Regions from separate parts of the Homo sapiens genome. Here regions 1 and 3 are each linked to region 2. Evidence: promoter capture Hi-C in 16 types of primary human blood cells and fetal thymus (Javierre and others, 2016). All regions are on one chromosome and are shown on one strand. Each heading gives the region's core, a stretch centred on a gene start or on the middle of the fragment in contact. The rest is flanking DNA. Distances are from core to core; before and after follow the strand shown. Region 1 holds the start of GPATCH1 (G-patch domain containing 1). Region 2 holds the start of TDRD12 (tudor domain containing 12). Region 3 overlaps GPATCH1 (G-patch domain containing 1).

Evidence for each region. The method cuts DNA at HindIII sites, captures the fragments that hold promoters and counts their contacts. A CHiCAGO score of 5 or more calls a contact.
Region 1: a contact is called between the fragment with the promoter of GPATCH1 here and the fragment with the promoter of TDRD12 in region 2, in 1 of 17 cell types (total CD4 T cells). The highest score is 5.0, in total CD4 T cells.
Region 3: a fragment that was not itself captured here is called in contact with the fragment with the promoter of TDRD12 in region 2 in 1 of 17 cell types (erythroblasts); the score reaches 6.1 in erythroblasts.

The regions. Positions count from the first base shown.
Region 1 is chr19:33,079,672-33,083,654 of GRCh38, forward strand. GPATCH1 (G-patch domain containing 1) reads left to right here and starts at 1,510. Exons shown (of 20, transcript NM_018025.3): 1 at 1,510-1,595. The coding sequence starts at 1,523. RefSeq lists enhancers at 1,405-1,734, 3,370-3,870, 3,841-3,983 and a cis regulatory region at 3,926. The HindIII fragment of the contact is 10,253 bases long and covers 1-3,983 here.
Region 2 is chr19:32,717,030-32,721,084 of GRCh38, forward strand. TDRD12 (tudor domain containing 12) reads left to right here and starts at 2,738. Exons shown (of 33, transcript NM_001366102.1): 1 at 2,738-3,067. The coding sequence starts at 3,044. The HindIII fragment of the contact is 20,000 bases long and covers 1-4,055 here.
Region 3 is chr19:33,110,091-33,114,402 of GRCh38, forward strand. It overlaps GPATCH1 (G-patch domain containing 1), which reads left to right. Exons shown (of 20, transcript NM_018025.3): 12 at 1,634-1,812; 13 at 2,396-2,523; 14 at 3,677-3,813; 15 at 4,163-4,312. Among named protein-coding and RNA genes, the nearest start is that of WDR88, 20 kb to the right of the region's middle. The HindIII fragment of the contact is 1,130 bases long and covers 2,481-3,610 here.

The sequences.
Region 1 (3,983 bases), core at 260-2,759, 360 kb after region 2:
AAAAAGAAACAACAAGACCATGTCCTTTGCAGCAACATAGATGCAGCTGGAGGCCATTATCCTAAACAAACTAATGCAGGAACAGAAAACCAAATACTGCATGTTCTCACGTATAAGTGGGAGCTAAACATTGAGCACACATGGACATAAAGAAGGGAATGACAGGTGCCAGGCGCAGTGGCTCACGCCTGTAATACCAGCATTTTGGGAGGCCGAGGCGGGTGGATCACTTGAGGTCAGGAGTTCAAGACCAGCCTGGCCAACATGGTGAAACCCAGTCTCTACTAAAAATACAAAAAAAAAAAAAAAAAAAAAAAAAAATGGCCGGGTGCGGTGGCTCACATCTGTAATCCCAGCACTTTGGGAGGCCAAGGTGGATGGATCGCCTGAGGTGGGGAGTTCGAGACCAGCCTGACCAACATGGACAAACCCCGTCTCTACTAAAAAAAAAATTACAAAATTAGCCAGACATAGTGGTGCATGCCTGTAATCCCACCTACTAGGGAGGCTGAGGCAGGAGAATCGCTTGAACCCGGGAGGCGGAGGTTGAGGTGAGCCGAGATCGTGCCATTGCACTCCAGCCTGGGCAACAAGAGTGAAACTCTGTCTCAAGAAAAAAAAAAAAAAAACCACCACAACAACCAACCAACCAAACAAACAAAAATTTAGCAGGGCGTGGTGGGGTGGACGCTTATAATCCCAGCTATCAGGAGGCTGAGGCAGGAGAATCACTTGAATCTGGGAGGCGGAGGTTGCAGTGAGCTGAGATCGCGGCCACTGCACTCCAGCCTGGGCGACAGAGCGAGACTCTGTCTCAAAAAAAAAAAAAAAAAAAAAGGGAATAACACCAGGGCCTACTTGAGGGTGGACCTACTTGAGGGTGGAAGGTACGAGGAGGGTGAGGATCGGAAAAACTACCTATTGGGTACTATGCTTATTACCTGGGGAGGAAATAATCTGTAACCCAAATCCCTTGCGACATGCAATTTACCTATATAACAAACTTGCACATGTACCCCTGAACCCAAAATAAAAGTAAAAAATAATAATAATAAAAATAAAGCGAAGCCCCACGGGGCGAGCATGAAATCTGGGAGCTCAGCCATTTCCCTGGAGGTGGCTGGGTGGGCGGTGGGAGTGGACGGGGCTGGGCAGTGACTGCTGCCAAGGCAGGGGGCTGGCGCGAGGGACGGGGGTAGGGGGCTGGGCAGGCATCGGTGTCGCCTCGCAGGGAACAGTTGGGTGGCTTCCAGCTTATGCCAGGAGTCTCCTCCTCACCCGCACATCGCGGGGCTAGGATGGGATGTCGTGGCTGCCAAATCCTCCGAGGCAACTCCTGCCTGGGACGGCCTACCACAGGATGGGCCTGAGAATCCGGAGCGCAGGCTCGGGCCGCTAGGACACCTTCCCCCGCCCGCGGACCCAGCCTTCCAGCATCACCGGGGTTCGCGGAGGAGAAAGAGGAAAGGCGTTTGGCCTGCCAAGGCCGCCGTAGCGAGGGGGCGGGGCCCGGAAGAGCAGGATGGCGGCGCGGGACAGTGACAGCGAAGAAGATCTGGTCAGCTATGGGACCGGGCTGGAGCCTCTGGAAGAAGGTGCGGGCCGCGTGGGCCGGCGGAGCCTGTGGAAAACAGGCCAAGGGCCCAGGATTCGGGCCACAAAAGCACAAGTCGGTGCTGGACCATTGTTAGATCGTTCCCAGCGCTGGGAACACGGCGACGAGGGAGGCGTTAGCCGCGCTCTCGGGGTGCTCACCTTCTGCAGCGACAGAGAGAGGTTTACAGGGACGGGAGACACAAGCGTGGCCGAACAAGGGGGCGGCGAGATAGAAACAAGAAAATGACGGAATAGCTAGTGTGAGAGCGGGGGGTGCTCAGGCAGTGTCTTCCCCGAGAGAGGACGTTTGAGCTCAGACTTGAAACCGAGGAAGAAAACAACCATGAGCAAATCTGGAGGGAAAGCATTTCAGGCAGAAGGAACATAAAGTGGCAAAGGCCCTGAAGTGGGAGCCAGTTTAGGAAATTGAGGGGCAGGCAGGACGGGTATGGTTGCAGCAGATGACAGCGGGGGAGACAGGTAGAAAAGAATGTCAGAGGGGCTGACAGGGGCTGGATCTTACTTGGTAGGGTAAAGAGTTTGGATCTTGTACTAAGTGCAGGATTAGGGTTAGGGTTAGGGTCATGGGAAATTACACAGGGAGGGATATATATATGATTTTTAGAGACAGGGTTTTGCTCTGTTTCCCAGGCTGGTCTTGAACTCCTGACTTCAAGTGATCCTCTCGCTTCTGCCTCCCAAAGTGCAGGGATTACAGGCTTGAGCCACTGTGCTCGGCCAATTTTTAATGTTATTCTATCTTTGATGTTGAGAATACACTGGTTGGGGATGGGTAAGAGTGAAGCAGGGAGATTAGCAAAAAGAGGTCAGGAGATGATGGTGGCATGGATGGGACAGCAGTGGTGGTGGTGTGTAGTGGTCTGGGTGGAGATATATTTTGAAAGCAGAGCTGACCATACTTGCTGGTGGAATGTGGGGGTGAGGGGCAAGATGAATCAAGGTTCTCTCCTGTGTTTCTGGTCTGTTCCACTTAACGACTTGACTTGTTCAGCAAGTTATGTATTGAGTGTCCAGTAAGGGCTGTTGGCTGTGCTAGCCCTGTAGGGAAGGCAGAGGAAGAATGGTGGAATCATTGGGCCACAATTTATTTGCAGACCTCCTGTTGGTGGGGGTCCCCTCCCTTTTTTCACCCTGACCACATCCTGCCAGGTTGATTGTACTTCTGGGATATCTCCACTTATGCCCCCTTTATTTCCTACAAACAGTTCTGGTGGAAACTTCTGCTGGATACTGGCCCTTCTTCTACCCTCGGCTTACAAAAGGTTGAGAAAGGGGCCAGGCACAGTGGTTCACACCTGTAATCCCAGCACTCTGGGAGGCTGAGGTGGGAGGATTGCTTGAGGTCAGGAGTTTGAGACCAGCCTGGGCATTGTAGTGAGACTCTGTCTGTAACAAACAAACAAACAAACGAAACAAAAGGCTGAGAAAGGCTAGTCTTCCGAATGCTTTTTATGTGTTTGAAGTCAGCTGTTGCATTTTCTTAAGACATCTCTGTTCTACACTCACTATCCCAAGTTCTTTTTTTATAGAGACAGGGTCTTGCTGTGTTGACCATGCTGGTTTCAAACTCCTGACCTCAAGCGATGCTCTCACCTTGGCTTCCCAAAGTGCTGGATTGCATGCATGAGCCACAGTGCCCAACATTTTTTATTTTAAAAATAGAGATGAGGCCGGGCGTGGTGGCTCACGCCTGTAATCCCAGCACTTTGGGAGGCCGAGGCGGGCAGATCGCGAATTCAGAAGATCCTAACCATCCTGGCTAACACGGTGAAACCCCGTCTCTACTAAAAATACAAAAAAAAATTAGCTGGGCGTGGTGGGGGGGGGCTCATGTAGTCCCAGCTACTCGGGAGGCTGAGGCGGGAGAATGGCGTGAGACTGGGAGGCAGAGCTTGCAGTGAGCCAAGATGGCGCCACTGCACTCCAGCCTGGGCGACAGAGCGAGACTCTGTCTCAAAAAAAAAAAAAAAAAAAATAGAGATGGGATCCTTCTATGTTGCTCAGGCTGGTCTTGAACTCCTGGCCTCAAGTAGTCTTCCCAGCTCAGCTTCTTAAAGTGTTGGAATTATAGGCGTGACTCTCTACGCCTGGCCCCAACCATGTTTTTGTTTTTTTTTTTTTTCTGTGACAGAGTCACGCTCTGTTGTCCAGGCTGGAGTGCAGTGGCGCGATCTCGGCTCACTGCAACCTCCGCCTTCCAGGTTCAAGCGATTCTCCTGCCTCAGCCTCTCAAGTAGCTGGGATTATAGGTACATTCCACTACGCCTGGCTAATTTTTGTATTTTTAGTAGAGACAGGGTTTCGCCATATTGGCCAGGCTGGTCTTGAAGTCCTTAGGTCAAGCAATCCATCTGCCTTCACCTCCC
Region 2 (4,055 bases), core at 1,488-3,987:
TCACTGCAACCTCTGCCTCCTTGGTTCAAGCGATTCTCCTGCCTCAGCCTCCTGTGTAGCTGGAATTACAGGTGCTTGTCACTATGCCCGGCTAATTTTTGTATATTTAGTAGAGACAGGGCTTCACCATATTAGCCAGGCTGGTCTCGAACTCCTGACGTCAAGTGGTCCACCCACCTCGGCCTCCCAAAGTGCTGGGATTACAGGCCTGAGCCACCTCGCCCAGCCAGGACCTCCTGTTTAAATCAGATCCTGTCATTTTCCATCTCTTTTTGGCAAGGTCTTGAGCTTTCAGGTGAGTTGGCCATACCAGGTGCCTTGATTGGAGGGGAGGCCTTGTCAACCTAATTTCAGGAACAGGTGAACATCACGCACTTTGCAGCTGTGTTTTTCTCCCGACTGGCAGCTACACACCTTTCCTCTGCAACCATCCTGCCTGAGAGTTTAAGTGCATGTTATCTGTGGGACCTCGTGCAATCCAGTTTTCTTATAGAACTGCATGCTTATGTGAGCATTCTGTTCCCCAAATAATAACTCCACAGTTTCCATGCTCTCTCCAAACTCTTGCAGTCTTTTGTCATCTTGTTGGTTCCCTTACTAGCAAATTAACTCGTTTAGACTCGGAGAGCCCTGCCAGTTGAAGTCCAGCTGGGAAGAAATCCAGGACCAGGAACCTTTCCAAAAGGTGCAGATCAAATGGAAATGTTGCCAGGAGGCCACGAAGACCCAGGGATTCATGACTGTCCAGGACTCTTCCTCACCACCAAGGCTTCCAGCTCACAGCGTTTAAGGGGTGTAGGCTGGCCTAGAGAAAGCAGGAGGACAGGGGCCCCTTAGCAGGCAACAAGGACCAACTGAGGGCCTGGTGTGGTGGTTCATGCCTGTAATCCTAGCTGCTCAGGGGGCTGAGGCGGAAGGATGGCTTGAGCCCAGGAGTTCAACACCAGCCTGGGCAACACAGCGAGACCCCCATCTCTACAAAAAAATTAAAAAATTATCCAGGCGTGGTGGTGCATGCCTGTAGTCCCAGCTACTTGAGAGGCTGAAGATGGAGGATCAACTGAGCCCAGGAATTCAAGGCTGCAGTGAGCCATGATTGTGCCACTGCACTCCAGCTTGGGCAAGAGAGCCATATCCTGTCTCTTTAAAAATAAAATAATGAACTTGTAACCACCTAATGGGTTCACCTTGCCCGCTGCCTAGACAGAGCCAATTTATCAAGACAGGGAATTGCAATGGAGAAAGAGTAATTCACGCAGAGCCGGCTGTGTGGGAGACTGGAGTTTTATTATTACTCAAATCAGTCTCTCCGAGCATTTGAGGAACAGAGTTTTTAAAGACAATTGGGCGGGTAGGAGCTTGGGAAGTGGGGAGTGCTGATTGGCCAGGTTGAAGATGGAATCAGAGGTTGTTGGAGTTTTTCTTGCTATTTACTCTTCCTGGTTGGTTTGGCAGAACTGGTTGAGGCAGATTATCGGTGTGGGTGGTGTCAGCTGATCCACTGAGCTGATTCAAGGATTGTTGTCTCATGCCTCCCTAAAATGTAAAAGACCAAGTGAGGCAGGAAAATAGGGTCTGGAGGTAGGGAACATAAGGCCGATTCACGCTTCAGCTATAAGGGGAAATACCCTCTCCATAGGGCATACACCGAGTAAATGACTTCGTAACTTTACTTCACCGTCTTCATTTACATCGGGCGTACCCCAAGCAGAAGGTATTTAAATTCACAGAAATTCTGCCGGGCCTTTGAGTCCCTGTGTTCAGGCCTGCTCCCACACTGTGGAGTGTACTTTTTCAATAAAACCCTTCATTCCTTCCTTGCTTTGTGTGTGCCTTTTGTCAAATTCTTTCTTCAAGACACCAAGAACCTGGACACCCTCCAACTTTAACACAAGCTGTGCCTCGACCACGTCTAGCAAATGTCGTTAGGACTTCCTGTGTCAGGGGCGCCTGTCCTCAACCTTGGCAAAATTTTTTGTTTTGTTTTGTTTTTTGAGACAGAGTCTCACTCTGTCGCCCAGGCTGGGGTGCAGTGGCCTGATCTCAGCTCACTGAAACCTCTGCCTCCCGGGTTCAAGCGATTCTCCTGTCTCAGCCTCCCAAGTAGCTGGGATTAGAGGCGCTCCCCACCATGCCAGGCTAATTTTTCTATTTTTAGTAGAGACGGGGTTTCACCATGTCGAGGATGCTAGTCTCCAACTCCTAACCTTATCAGGTGATCCGCACCCCTCGCCTCCCAAAGCGCTGGGATTACAGGCCTGAGCCACCTCGCTCTGCTGGCCAAATAAACTTTCTAAATGAACTGAGACCTATCTCACATTTTCAGGATTCACAGGCTCTTATCAATTTTGTTTCAGAGTCAAACCATGGACTGAATTCCTTCCCAAGGTTAGTTGGGCTTCCGCCCAGGAATAAACAAGGACAGCTTAAAGGTTAGAGGCAAGATGGAGTTGATTAGGTCTGATTTCTTTCACCATCACAATTTCCTCAGTTACAATTTTGCAAAGGTGGTTTCCAACGGACTCAGCCGCACGCGGCCCCTCTGTCCCTCCGGGGGACAGGCGAGTGTCCCTGGGGCCTGCAGGGCAGTCCTGCTGGCTGCAAAAGAGAGAATCACGCGACCCCTAGCCGGGCCTCCCAGGGCCTCCGCGCGTCAGTCCTCCTGGCCACCGCGTGGCGCTGTGCCTTACGTTGTTGGGCCGTTGGGTGGACCACGTGGTCTCCGACGCCTCAAGGCCTGCTCAGCGTGCGCGGGCATCCGGTGGGTGCGGGAGGCCCGAGGCCAGGCAGGCAGGGATCCCGCAGCGAGGGGCTGGTTACTGCCAGGACGGAGCGCATTGCCTCGAGCCGACCCCGGGGTCCGCGAGGGCTCCTGGGGACGAGGAGTGTGGGGCACCTGCCGCGGGGGGCCCAGGCGCTAAAGGTGGAGGGAAGGAACGCACTCGCGGCGGGGGCCTGGCCGGGGCGGACGCAGCCAGCCTCACCCGCGACGGTAGGGGACTTCCAGGGCGAGGGGGCCCATCTGCCCTCGGGCGCCAGGAGGATGCTCCAGCTCCTGGTGCTGAAGGTGAGCGCCGCCAAGCCAGACCCACGCCAGACCCACGCAGTCCCCCACCCCCACCCCAGCCGCGCACAGCCTCCCACCCCCACCCCAGCTCCGCACAGCTTCCTACACCCACCGCAGCCCCGCACAGCCTCCCACCCCCGACCCCAACCCTACACAGCCCCCACCCCTCCCCCCATCCCAGCCTCCACATCCCTCCACACCCACTCCTCCCAGCCCACGCATCCCCCCCATGTCCACTCCCTCTCAGCCCACACCTACTCCCCACGCCCACTCCTCCCCCAACCCACACATCCTCCCACACCCACTCCCACCCAGCTCCACCCCCACACTCACACATGCCCCCACCCCATCTCACTGCTGCACACTCCATCCCACTCCCACACATCCCAACCCCGTATATCCCATGCCGCCACACCACGCCCCCACTCCCACCCCACTCCCACCCCAACCCATCCCACTCCCAACCCCACACACCCCCAACTCCTACCCTAGCCCCAGCTCCCACCCGTTTCCTTATCGCTGCCCACCCCACAGTCACACCCTCGCCCCTGTCCCCACCCCATCCTTATTCCCACCGCCCCCACTCACACCTCCACCCCAACATTTCATCCCCCCACACTCAGCCCCACACACCCCACCACCACCCCATCTCCACTCCCACCTGCACCCCAGCCGCAGCCCACCCCACCTCCACTCCAACCCCACCCCGCCCTCCCCCACCTGAACCCTCCCTGCGCCCCCACCAGGGGGCACCCCGGGCTGGGAGCTGGGGTAGAACCCGGATGAGCCCGGGTTTCACGGGCCCTGGCGTGCTCCGGGATGCACCTGGAGGAGCGCGGAATTGGTTGCTCCTCCGAATGCTCGATCACCCGGGCCAAGCGACACTGGCGTCCCCAGGGCCCCGCTCTCCGTACTCCACGGGGCCCTTAGGCTCGGCGCCTGGACAGGGTCGGGTGGCCCGGGCAGCCCCAGCCCATGGGTCCGGGCT
Region 3 (4,312 bases), core at 1,796-4,295, 390 kb after region 2:
ATATTTACAGTTGAGGTATCCTGTTCTGTCAGTGTTTTTGCTTTATCCTGCTGCAAATAGTGCAAAGGTTTCAGGCCTTGGCTCTTGACCTCAGAAAGCAAGAACAGTTGGCTTATGTTCCTCCATATCTCAGGCCAAAGCTAGCTGTTTAAGTAGAGAACACAGCTGGCGGTGGCCGGTACTTACAGGCCGTTTGGTGTTTGCAAGTGCTTGACTGCTACAAGCATTGCATTCACATTTCATATCAGCATCATCTTCCACCTCATCCGAAGATCCTAACCATCCATTCCTGACTCATAGTCTAAAATATGACTTAAAACAATAGTTAGCTATTGAACCGTTACAGAGGGAAAACAATCACTTTGTGATCTGTGAAGTAAATAGGGCAAGAATGAGGCAAGAATGAGGAAAGGGGTTGCTGTTGTATGCAGTAGTCCTCGTGAGAGGTTATCAGTAAATTACAGGGTTGTTTTTTAAAAACAGATCTTTGCGGAATGTAAAGTCTATTTACTGTGCCTTAACTCTCTACTAAGAACCTACATCACTAATGTTTATTTGCTTTAAAAAAAAAAAACGGTTAGTGAAAGAGTGTTTTTCTGCCAAAACATAGGGATGTGGTTGAGGTGAACTTATCACTGCCTGGGAGTGGTGACAAGTTCCTTACTGCTGAAGATTTAACCAACCATTAGCCTCTCAAATGGTTTTCTCTGTTATGTTTGGTAGACAGAATTCAATAAAAGCATCATTTTGGCTGGGGATGGTGGCTCATGCCTGTAATCCAAGTACTTTGGGAGGCTGAGATGAGGATCGCTTTAGCCTAGGAGTTCAAGACCAGCCTGGGCAACATAGTGAGATCCTGCCTCTACCAAAAAAAAAAAGATATATATGTATATATAAAATATATTATATATATATATACACACATCATATTTTATTTATTTTTTTGAACGGAGTCTTGCTCTGTTGCCCAGGCTGGAGTGCAGTGTCAGGATCTTGGCTCACTGCAATCTCAGCTCACTGCAACCTCCACCTCCCAGGTTCAAGTGATTATCCTGCCTCAGCCTTCTGAGCAGCTGGGACTATAGGTATGTGCCACCACGCCTGGTAATTTTTTGTTTCCCGTCTCTACTAAAAATACAAAAAATTAGCCGGGCATGGTGGCGGACGCCTGTAGTCCCAGCTACTCGGGAGACTGAGGCAGGAGAATGGTGTGAACGTGGGAGGCGGAGCTTGCAGTAAGCAGAGATCATGCCACTGCACTCCAGCCTGGGAGACAGAGTGAGACTCCATCTCAGAAAAAAAAAAAAAAAAAAAAAGAGAGATGGGGTTTCACCATGTTTGCCAGGCTGGTCCCGAACTCCTGACCTCAAGTGACCCACCCGCCTCGGCCTCCCAAAGTGCTGGGATTACAGGCATGAACAACTGCGCCTGGCCTAAATTTTTTTTAAAAAAGCACAATTTTGAAGGAAACAGCAATATTACCTGCCAAATACCTCACCATTCCCATAGTCATAAAAACAAGGATAAGGACTTATGAAATATACAGGGATACAGTGGTGCCCAGCAGATGTTCTCTTGTAAGCCCCATGTTTTCCTGAAAAGTGAAGCTGCTTCTTGTTCTCTGCCCCCGCAGATGCTCTGGAACGCTGTCTGGACCCCAGCATGACAGAGTGGGAGCGAGGCCGTGAGCGGGATGAGTTTGCCCGGGCGGCCCTGCTGTACGCATCTTCCCATTCGACCTTGTCCTCCAGGTTCACTCACGCCAAGGAGGAGGATGACTCAGATCAGGTTGAAGTCCCTCGAGACCAAGAGGTCTGTTGTCACCATGTCCCTTACCTGGTGAACTTTAATATTAAAGCACTGCCTAGCCAAAATAGTTTTTTCCTTTTTTTTGAGACGGAGTCTCTCTCTGTCGCCCAGGCTAGAGTGCAGTGGTGTGATCTCGGCTCACTGCAGCCTCCGCTTCCTGGGTTCAAGCGATTCTCCTGCCTCAGCCTTCCAAGTAGCTGGGATTACAGGCGCTCGCCACAACAGCCATCTAATTTTTGTATTTTTAGTAGAGATGGGGTTTCACCATATTGGCCAGGCTGGTCTTGAACTCCTGACCTCAGGTGATCCACCCGCCTCGGCCTCTCAAAGTACTAGGATTACAGGCATGAGCCACCATGCCCGGCCGAGCCAAATATTTTTAATCCCTTGGTGAGAAGATCAAAATATACATGTATAGGAGAATAGGAAACCATTTTATGCCTTAGTTTCCAATGTACTGGAGCATAAATGTTATAGCACAAACTTTTTTCACAGTTCTAGAAGATTGCTTGAAAATTTTAAATGGGAGAGCAGTCAGGTCAGTGGTGCGGCCACTTGATGGAACAGAATGCATGTCTTTTTCCAGAATGATGTCGGGGATAAGCAGTCGGCTGTGAAGATGAAGATGTTTGGGAAGCTCACCCGAGACACGTTTGAGTGGCACCCTGACAAGCTTCTATGTAAGAGATTTAATGTCCCTGACCCTTATCCAGAGTAAGTTGGATAAACCTTTACATCAGTACAAAATGTATTCTTGATATTAAAGCTAATTTTCCCCTTACATACTCATATAAATTCTTATTTTTTCTACATGAACTTATTTGCATATCACTGGATATACAAATCTACACATTTTATAGATTTGCTTTGATAAATTACTTCTATAATTTGTTACTAAAACAAAATCTGGATAGCAAACTTTATTCCATATTGAAGCTATGAAACTCAGATATGTCAAGTTACAAAAGCATTATGCCTCTCTCATTTGCCACCTTCTTGTTGCTGCTCATGTGGTTTACATTTATAATGTTACTTATGTTTTTAAATTATCATTATAAAAGTTAAACACTTTCTTATTTGATTAATAACACTTCAAGAGGTGGGGTGTGGTGGTGCACACTTGTAATCCTAGCTTGGGAGGCCAAGGCAGGAGGATCGCTTGAGCCCAGGAGTTCGAGGCCAGCCCGGGTAACATAGTAAGACCCCATCTCTAAAAAATCAAACAAACAAACAAACAAACAGAACACTTCAAGATAGTAGGCCGGGTGCAATGGCTCACGCCTGTAATCCCTGTATTTTGGGAGACTGAGGCAGGCAGATCACTTGAGGTCAGGAGTTCAAGACCAGCCTGACCAACATGGTGAAACCCCGTCTCTACTAAAAATACAAAAAATTAGCTGGGCGTGGTGGTGCGTGCCTATAGTCCCAGCTATTTGGGAGGCTGATGCAGGAGAATTGCTTGAACCTGGGAGGCGGAGGTTGCAGTGAGCCAAGATTGTGCCATTGCACTCTAGCCTGGGTGACAAGGCGAGACTCAATCTCAAGAGAAAAAAAAACAAAACAAAAAGATAGCATATGTGGTCAAACCAGAGACTGTCAGAAACTTTAGGTATATTTTTATCAGTGGAGCTTTTCCTTAATGGAAATCCATTTTGAAAGTTAAATTCTTGTCCTTATCATAATAAGGAAAATCTCATGGGACCTAAAATCAGTCACCCAGATTCTCGAACTGCTTTGAGAAGTGAAAGCATCTTAGGAGACTTTTTAGTCATGCAGAAGAGGTGGAAAACTTGAGATGGAAAGCTTTTCAGGAGGTGGATTTTGTCCTACTGGTTGTTACTAAAATGATTCTTTTTTCAATTCCCAGTTCAACTTTAGTTGGCTTACCAAGAGTGAAGCGTGACAAGTACTCAGTCTTCAACTTTCTGACGCTCCCAGAGACAGCTTCCTTGCCCACCACTCAAGCATCAAGTGAAAAAGTATCACAGCACCGAGGTCCCGACAGTGAGTAGGGCGTCCCCGGGGTCTCTGATTGACCAGGGCCTCAACCCCTAGCCTGTAGGAAGACAGAATTAAAGGGTAGTTTAGTCCTAACAATGTGAATGGTGCATATTCTCCCTCCATTGAGGGAATTACTCTTACTAATAACTTAGCTCATGTTGTAATGGTCCAGATGTTTACTCTTTGGGGTTGGGGCTCTGTCTCTGCCTCTGCCACCTACCTCCCCAGGACCCTACACAGTGCCAGGCCCCTAGTAGGCACGCTGACATTCTGAGTGAATGAAAGAGCAGTGGTGAAGAACTGGCCTTTTCCTTGCTAATGCTGGAGTTTATATCTATGTCCTGCCTTTCAGAATCAAGAAAACCATCCAGATGGGATACCTCTAAACACGAAAAGAAAGAAGATTCCATTAGTGAATTTTTAAGTTTGGCTAGATCAAAAGCCGAGCCACCTAAACAACAGTCCAGCCCCTTAGTAAACAAAGAGGAAGAGCATGCACCAG